Linked DNA regions of Homo sapiens: all the other regions are linked to region 3. Evidence: promoter capture Hi-C in 16 types of primary human blood cells and fetal thymus (Javierre and others, 2016). All regions are on one chromosome and are shown on one strand. Each heading gives the region's core, a stretch centred on a gene start or on the middle of the fragment in contact. The rest is flanking DNA. Distances are from core to core; before and after follow the strand shown.

Region 1 (2,700 bases), core at 86-2,585, 1.2 Mb before region 3:
AATACCCATAATATGGTACTTGAAACATCTACCACAGGGTCATTTCAGGTTCAACTAAACATTCGGGTTCACAGGACTGTCACTGGCCACACTTGGCATTAGCTTCACTTGAGATTATAGGACAAGAGCCAAAGCCTACCAGCAGAGAGGCCTCAGGTGTACCCCTTCTGTGGGAATAGTGCTTGCAGTCCACACAGCAGGTCACAGAGCTGCCTGGGAGCTGTTTGTTCTCCCAGAGGGTGGCTCAAATGCAAGGAGAATATATCCCATTAATAGGGTGTGGGGGAATCCTGAATTAGAAGCCTTGCCTCTCAGAAGCTATAGATTTTAAGGTAGCTGCCTAGTAAATATTTTATCAGATATAGTTGTGTACCTATCCTTCCTTAAAAGAAGAGATAGTCATGTATATGATACAATTAGCTGCTTATAGTATAATTAAGAAACATAAGAAGGTTTAGGTAAAGTGCTATGGATCTTTAGAACTGGTAAAGATTACTTTTAGCAGGGGAGATCATGAATGATGGATAGGATTTAGGCATTCCAGGTGGAAGGAACAGGAGAAGCAAAGTAATAAAAAGAAAGATGTGGATAGGAAAGAGTAATTTCAGATTGGCTGGAGATAAGGTTTGTTTCACCCTTCAGGAATTTTGAATAGTATGGGAATTTCTCAGATATTCAGAGAACATGCTGTTCATTCATTTTAAGAAAAGTTTGACCACTGATTACATGCATGGTCCAGTTTACCAATTAGGGGAATGTATACATGAAGAAGACATGGTACCCTAGAAAAGCTTGCAGTGTAACAGACAAATAACTATATACTTACAGAATGTGATAGAAATTGTAAGAATGTTGTGAGAAAAGAATTATAAGAGCCATGAGGAGAACCACACTCCTATATTTGCTGTTATGCCATTTTTAGTTTTTGACTCTTTCTTGGTAATACTGTCTGCTATTTGGAAAATTTTTTTGAAGGATCCACTTTATTTTATTTTTTCGGAAGCTGTCAGCAGTGGTGCTTCCAGAATAAGATATTTTGTGCATGCTGGCCCTTTGGTTTAATTTGTTTTTATCTTGCTGGCAGAGGATCCAAAAGTATTTTATAGAGTATGAGATTAAAATAATGAGAGGATGTTTGCAGGCTGATATAACCAATCTTCAGAATGCCAAGCTGTCAGTCTTTCATCTTTTCGGGGTCTAGAAACCTGTCTTATTTTCTCTAGACAACTGCTTTTCATTGACCAGGAACCTTGATCTTCAGAATTTGTTCTGCAAACCATTATAGCTAGATGGTGGGGAAAAATGTATTTCTGGACATTAATGAATTGCCCTAATAGATTTCCATAAACAGGTTTTGGAACTGAATATTGCATTGATTATTCAGATTTCTTTTGGATTTTTCACTGGCAGAAGAGAAACTAATCTGATCAGTAATAAAAAAATAAAAAGAAAACAATACAATATAATAAAACTCTGACATTTCATAGGTTCAGTTATCCTTGGCTAAATTATGAGGTATGACTATTTGAGCTTTACATTTATTAACAAAAGTGGTCTTTAATTGGGGTGTTTTTATGCTTTTTTGTTCAGGGTTTTTATGAAGTTCTGCATGGCTTTGTATTCAGAAGCCATTCTTTTATCAAAGTTTCACTAGCATTATCTGAGCTTAATATTCTGGGATGTACTTTGTAGCCAGTGATGAAAGGAGGAAAGTCAGCAGAAATTACTTACATATTTGTTAGCATTTGAAACATCTTAGCCTTCTAATAAGAACTATCACGGCCAGGCACAGTGGCTTATGTCTGTAATCCCAGTGCCTTGGGAAGCTGAGGTAGGAGGATGGAGGATGGCTCAAGGCCAGGAGTTCCAGGCAAGCTTGGGCAACGTAGCCAGACTCCATCTCAAAAAAAAAAAAAAAAAAAAATTCAGGTGTAGTGGCTTGTGGCTGTAATTCTAGGGAGGCTGAGGTGGGAGGATTGCTTGAGCCCAGCAATCCAAGGCTTCAGTTAGCTATGATTGTGCCACCGTACTGCAGCCTGGATTGGGCGACGGAGAGAGACCTTCTCTCTAAAACAAACCCAAAACACCTGACACCAGTAGATACCAAGTAGGCATAGTACAGGCACTGGATCCTCTCATGAAAAAAGATTGTTGCATGAAGTCATTTTAAAAAGAAGCATGGTAATTGATCCTTTTGGGGATTTCTGTCCAATTTGGTGACCATTTCCCTTGTGAGAACATGCCATCCCTCACCCAGCCCGTCTAACGGGGTGGGCTCACAGACAGTTATGTTTATATTACACAGTGATCTCCTAAAAAGCCTCGGCCCAAGTTTTTAGCTTACAGGTGCACACCTTTTTCAATCTAGGACAATTAGGTTCTCTTGGTCAGGAGCTGAGACCAAATCACAGCTAAAACTATTATTTATAATTCAGGAGCTGAGAGGTAGGTTTATTTGGTATATAGATGGAGAAGCAGGGGAAAGTCCGTCTTCCAAGAGAAAAATAAAGCAGATGAGTGATAAGGAGAGAGGACAGCTGTCTATTTCTGGTTTCAGTCTCTTTTTCGATTCACATTACATAACTATATTATTATAATAAATTCTTCCTTTGGGTTTAGGTTAAGTCAGAGTGGTTTCTGTTACTTTAAACAATTTTAGCCAGGAAAGGTACTGTGAACATTTATAATGACATTATTATT
Region 2 (2,700 bases), core at 65-2,564, 1.2 Mb before region 3:
CCAAAATTAAATTTAAAAATCTTTAAAAAGTGTCTCATAAGATATAGTACATGCAGTTTTTTGGTGTGTATGCCATCTGGTACACTAATTTTTATGCATCCTAAAGTTGATAATTTTAGGAAATGGGTTCCCTAAATAAAGCCAGGAACTGGGAAAAAGTGGTTCCATTTAAAAAATTATCTTCCAGCCTGCTGAGGTGGCATATGTAACTTGGTTCGTATTATGAGTCTCTTGTCAGAGTATAAACACAACATGGCTTTATTTTTTTTTTGCATTTATTGCTTCCAGCTCTGCTGTGATGAACCTTCACCTCCCACAGAGAATGCATTCCCAGCTCAATGGCATCTCCTCAGATTGGTTCTCATATAAGTTGGATCATAGCGCCTACTATTTGTAACTTGCTTCTCTACTTTCCAGTATATCTTGGAGAGAGTTGTGAATCAGCACACACTAAGCTACCTCATTCTTCATGGCTTTATACTATTTTGTTGTATGATTGTGTGTCATAATGTATTTAATTGTTGATGGGCATGCAGGCTGTTTTCATTCTTTTAGCTAGTAAAAACCCATATATGACTTCTTAGAGGCCCTTGATTGTTTTGTTTCTACATTGTGAGATTATAAATTGACAATAAAAGGTTAAAGGTATTTACATGATTTTCTTCACATATCTGACTTTTAATGAACTATTTTAGGTTACCATGACTTTCATATAGTACTTCAGTGTAATACTAATAATCTGTCAAATGAAGTGGCTGGTGTTAGACTAGAAATGTCTAACTTAGTCATGCAGGGTTGCATTAGAGCAATTCTTCTCAAACTACATGTGGCAAAAGTGTCAAGTTTTGTTTTGTTTAAAAAAAATTTTCCAATCCTTTGTAGACCAATACTTTTGTAAAATACAGTAAACACAAATTATCATAAAAATAAAATTAGAAATGCATACAAACTACAAAGCCTAGATGATAAACACAGAGCAGTGGTTCTTAAAGGGTACTCTGGTATCCTCAATCATTTGTCTGATGTAAAAGGCATGAAAAAATTTGAGAATAGCTACTATGGGGAATTTTTATTATTTTTAGAAGTTTTTATTGTTCCACCATTATAAATAAATACAATGTTAAAAGTGAACCCGGGGTTTCTTTTATTATATACCTATAACCCATTTTGAAAGAATACCATGTATATCAAGACTCACTGCCATCGATGTGACAAATAAGCTTGCTTTTTGCTTGTTAATTTATCTAATCTTGGTTCGACTGATGACAGTGCCACTTGAGGGAGATAACGTATGTCTAAACGGTTTCTGTTGTCTGTTTTAATAACACTCCTAGTAGAGAAACCAGTCTCATAGACGTATTTGATTGTTATATATGAAGAGATTTTTAGAAAAGTTTAGCAAGCTTAGGATGTTCTTTTTAAAATTTTGCTCAGAATTAAGCAAGTCATCCTGTATTTTCAAAATTCATCTTCAATTTTTTATCAGTAGTTAATTCTAACAATTTCTCCTTTAAAATTATAGCCAAATTTAAATGACCTTTCATTAAAGGTAATAGGTTTGAGATTAATGCATGTCCTATGATTTGATCTCCTTTAATGGAAAACAAAATTCAGAAGTTTCATCAAATTAATAAGGTAGTTGGTACAATATATCAAGATTATTACCTACTTCACTGATAATTATTGATAAATTATAGAACATGCCATAATATTTTTCCAAGGTTTTAAAATTTGCTTTTGTCCTTTGATCTCATATGCCATCCAAAAAGATGTTGCAGTCCTTTTGTTCTATTGAAATATTAAGAAAATAAACGTGCCAAAAATATCAGCCAAACAAATCTGGGTGTTCAATTAACATGTTAAAATACTTGGGACCAAACTCCTCTCTTGTGTTGTAGCGAAAAAAGAAATTCATTTTGTAGTTCAAACATTCTCTACATAATTTTTTCCTTTGATAACTGCTGTACTTTAACTGCATACATTTTTTTAATTGATGATGATAATTTGATGATAATGATAGTGATGATTAGATTACCACGTCAATACCTTAAAACTTTGGATGGGCCCTGTTTAAAGGTACTTGTGGAAATGGGAGACCCCAGAGGAAGCTCTTCCTAGGCTGTGGTGACCTCGTTATTGGCCTATTATTTAATGGAGGTACTCTAACACTGCTGATAGTGGTCTGTTGCAATCTGTCCATCCACAGATTATTATGCTGATTGAGAAAGTGTAATCCAGAAATGGAACATATAAAGTCATTCTCATTTATGCCAGTTCTTCTGAGCCTCCTAGATGTAAAGATTATAAACGTTTTTCATTTTGAGTTTAATTCAAGGTCCTACTGTGTCTATTTTCCCTCACTAATTTGCATAGCATCCCTGTCTTTCCTGTCTCCTGCTTCTTTTCCTCCAGTTCCCTCTGTTCTTCTTATTAGGTCTGGATCTCTCTATGTGATGTTAAGTTTTCCTCTAGTTGACCCTCATTTTCTTGTACTGTCCTGGGTAATCTTTCTCCTTTGATCCAAATAGTTGTAAGTGGTTTTTAATTTAATGTTAGACATATTATTTATATGTAATTATAATTTATGTTGATAAGGTAATGGAAAGAACACCAGGCTTTTGGGAAAGGAGACCTGGGTATTTTCATTTTGTCTTCATTCTTTATTTGAATTTTATTTTTCTCCTTTGTTAAATAATGTGA
Region 3 (2,700 bases), core at 1-2,500:
TTTAGCAGGAGAGAATATAAGGGTAATCACCCCAGCACCTGGACCCATTTAGATTAAGTAAATTTACTCAGGCTCCAGAGGAAGGTCTTCAGGACTCAGATCTTATGGGTAAGAAGTTAATCACTTGTATCTTTAGATCAATGCACACTTACACATAAACATACAACTTACAAGGTATATAAGCTCTGGAAAGCTCTGTAATTCTGAGTCGGTCTGGGATATTTTCCACGCCTTCGCCCCGTACCTGGTTACAGAAATAAACTCCTTTCTTTCCTAGTTTATCTGCATCTCATTATTGGGCAGCGAGAATAAGCAGCCCAACCCTCGGTTTGGTGGTTTGGTCGGGGAGCATTACCACGACACTCGCATGCCACATGGTACTGTGATGACACTCTCCCCAGAGCAGGGCTTCAGGCAGTATGAGAGGGATGCGGGGTTCTAGAAACTCTAACCGAGTTTCTGGTCTCCAAAACTTGTCATGGTCACAGGTGGGTATCACCCTACTTCCCCACCTGCACTCGAGGATTCACGACCCTGGGATAGCTCCTAGACATTGTATTTTCCCATGAATTTAGTTTTGCTGCCCCCATTTTCCTGATTCTTTTCCTGCCATCTTGCAATCTCCTCTGATTTCTGGCACACCGCGGCCTTCCCTTCTACATATCACATCCTCGTTCTCCCCATACGGGGGTCCTGCCCATAAGGAGGCCGCAGCAGCTCTCGAGTGACCCCGGTGTAAACCTGCAGAGAAAAACCATTCCATTCCACGGAAGCGGGTGGAGGAGCCGCGCTTCCCGGCAGGCCACGTGGGGCGGAAAGACCCACTCAGTTTCCTCGCACCTCCGCCTCGACTTAGGAAAACGCTCTGGGGAACCCCAGCCCTGAAAAGGCGCGTCTCACCCCCCACGCCGGGTGCTGGCGACAAGGCCCAGTGAAAAAGCGTCTCGGGGCCGTCCGCGCGGAGGGGAAAGTGCTGAGGGAAGCCAAGGAATCCGCGCCTGCGGTCGCCGGAAACGTGGCGGGGACACGACCTCCGCGTCGGGGCTATTTTGCCCACTGCTGAGGAGGCCTCTCGCCACGTCCCGCTCCCGTCTTCCTCGAGGACCGGGCGCGGTGGCGCCTCTGGCCCACAGCAGGAAGGAAGGGGCAGCAACTCACGCCACCAACTCTGCCCCTCTGAGCGGCGCGCGCCCGCTTACCGGCCCCGCTGTTGCCGCAGCCGCCACCGCCGCCACGCGCACTTCCGGGCTGGTGAACGCGGTGACGTCACCAACGCACATGGGTTGGCGGCGAATGGGAAGTCGCGGCGGGGCGAGGGCGAGTGCGGGGGCGGGGCCCGGACCGAAGGGCTTCCGCCTCCCGTCGCTCCTCCCCACCGTGAGGCGAACCTCAGCCGGTTTCCCAGCCCCGCCGAGGCCCGCTGGGGCGAAGCGGAGCCCCGGGGGGCCCTGAGGAAACCGGCGCGGGTTCGTTTAATTACGCCCTTCTCGCCAGACCTCTGGCTGGCCCTGAGCTGCTCAGAAGCCCATCTGCGCGGCATGCCCGTGCGATCTGAGACAACTGGCAGCTGTCTTCCTTTGCAAAACGAGACTGTTAATAAAACCTACCCCAGGGTAGGACGGACTGTTCGGTAAATGTTAACTTATCCGTGTTTGACTATTCTCTCCTCTAATCTCTGCATAGGGTTAAGTCCACAGTTGACAGAGTCACGCGCATTCGAAATCTAAGCCCGCCGGTCCTATGAACTTACTGGGCATATTTTATTTTCTTACCTGGTTTGTGTAACCATTGGCCTCCTTGGCCCGGAGGCTTCCCATCTGTAACGTGGAGAACTTAGATTTGATCCAGTTCATTAATTCTTTCTAGAGCGGAAAAGAGCAAAGAGAGTGGCAAAGGAGTGGGAATACAGCCGTTGAGCCCTTAAAGTGCGAAAATGTGTAGTTTTTGTTTTGTTTTGTTTTTGAGACGGAGTTTCGCTCTTGTCGCCCAGGCTGGAGTGCGGTGGCGCGATCTGGGCTCGCTGCAACCTCCGCCTTCCGGTTTCAAGCGATGCTCCTGCCTCGGCCTCCCGAGTAGCTGGGATTACAGGTGTCTGCCACCACGCCCGGCTAATTTTTAGTAGAGACGGGGTTTTGCCGTGTTGGCCAACTGGTCTCGAACTCCTGACCTCGTGTTCCCCAGGCCTCGGCCCCCAAAAGTGCCGGGATTACTTTTGCCGGGATTCGGCCACTGCGCCCGGCCGAAAATGTGTAGTCTTTTAAGTGTAACTTTACATCACTTAGCTTTCCCTAAAATTTTCCTAGAAAAATGCTTGTGCATGTTATTTCTGTTCTTTTGCCCTCCCCACATGCCTACCTGTTCTTCCCAAACTTTTCAGCCCCACTCTCTGTAGACTTCCTAAAACGTAAAAAGTAAGATGTGCAATTACCACACCTCTTCAAGGTGTTGAATATCCTGTTTTTGGAAGCACAGGACTGGCTTTCCAAATGGACATTCAGAGGCACAGCATTGATATCATCCGGTGCAAGGATTTTCTGTCTCTCTCTCTCTTTGGGGCAAGGAAAGCCCCAAATCATCCTTTCAGGCTTGTCTGCTATTTCTCACCACCATGACCCTAGACAAACTGGACCAAAGCCTCCATTGCTGTACCCACCTAGAATAGATTCTCCAAATCACCACCTATGAAGGCAACGCTAATAC

Evidence for each region. The method cuts DNA at HindIII sites, captures the fragments that hold promoters and counts their contacts. A CHiCAGO score of 5 or more calls a contact.
Region 1: a contact is called between a fragment that was not itself captured here and the fragment with the promoter of TRNT1 in region 3, in 1 of 17 cell types (naive B cells). The highest score is 8.9, in naive B cells.
Region 2: a fragment that was not itself captured here is called in contact with the fragment with the promoter of TRNT1 in region 3 in 1 of 17 cell types (fetal thymus); the score reaches 5.8 in fetal thymus.

Annotation. Positions count from the first base shown.
Region 1 is chr3:4,296,789-4,299,488 of GRCh38, reverse strand. It overlaps a transcript of SUMF1 not described here. Among named protein-coding and RNA genes, the nearest start is that of SETMAR, 5.2 kb to the left of the region's middle. The HindIII fragment of the contact is 1,084 bases long and covers 794-1,877 here.
Region 2 is chr3:4,277,227-4,279,926 of GRCh38, reverse strand. It overlaps a transcript of SUMF1 not described here. Among named protein-coding and RNA genes, the nearest start is that of SETMAR, 25 kb to the left of the region's middle. The HindIII fragment of the contact is 183 bases long and covers 1,223-1,405 here.
Region 3 is chr3:3,125,490-3,128,189 of GRCh38, reverse strand. TRNT1 (tRNA nucleotidyl transferase 1) reads right to left here and starts at 1,250. Exons shown (of 8, transcript NM_182916.3): 1 at 1,200-1,250. It overlaps LOC124909339 (a long non-coding RNA gene), which reads left to right and starts at 1,359. Exons shown (of 2, transcript XR_007095786.1): 1 at 1,359-1,630. RefSeq lists enhancers at 687-766, 189-919 and a silencer at 1,127-1,546. The HindIII fragment of the contact is 15,170 bases long and covers 1-2,700 here.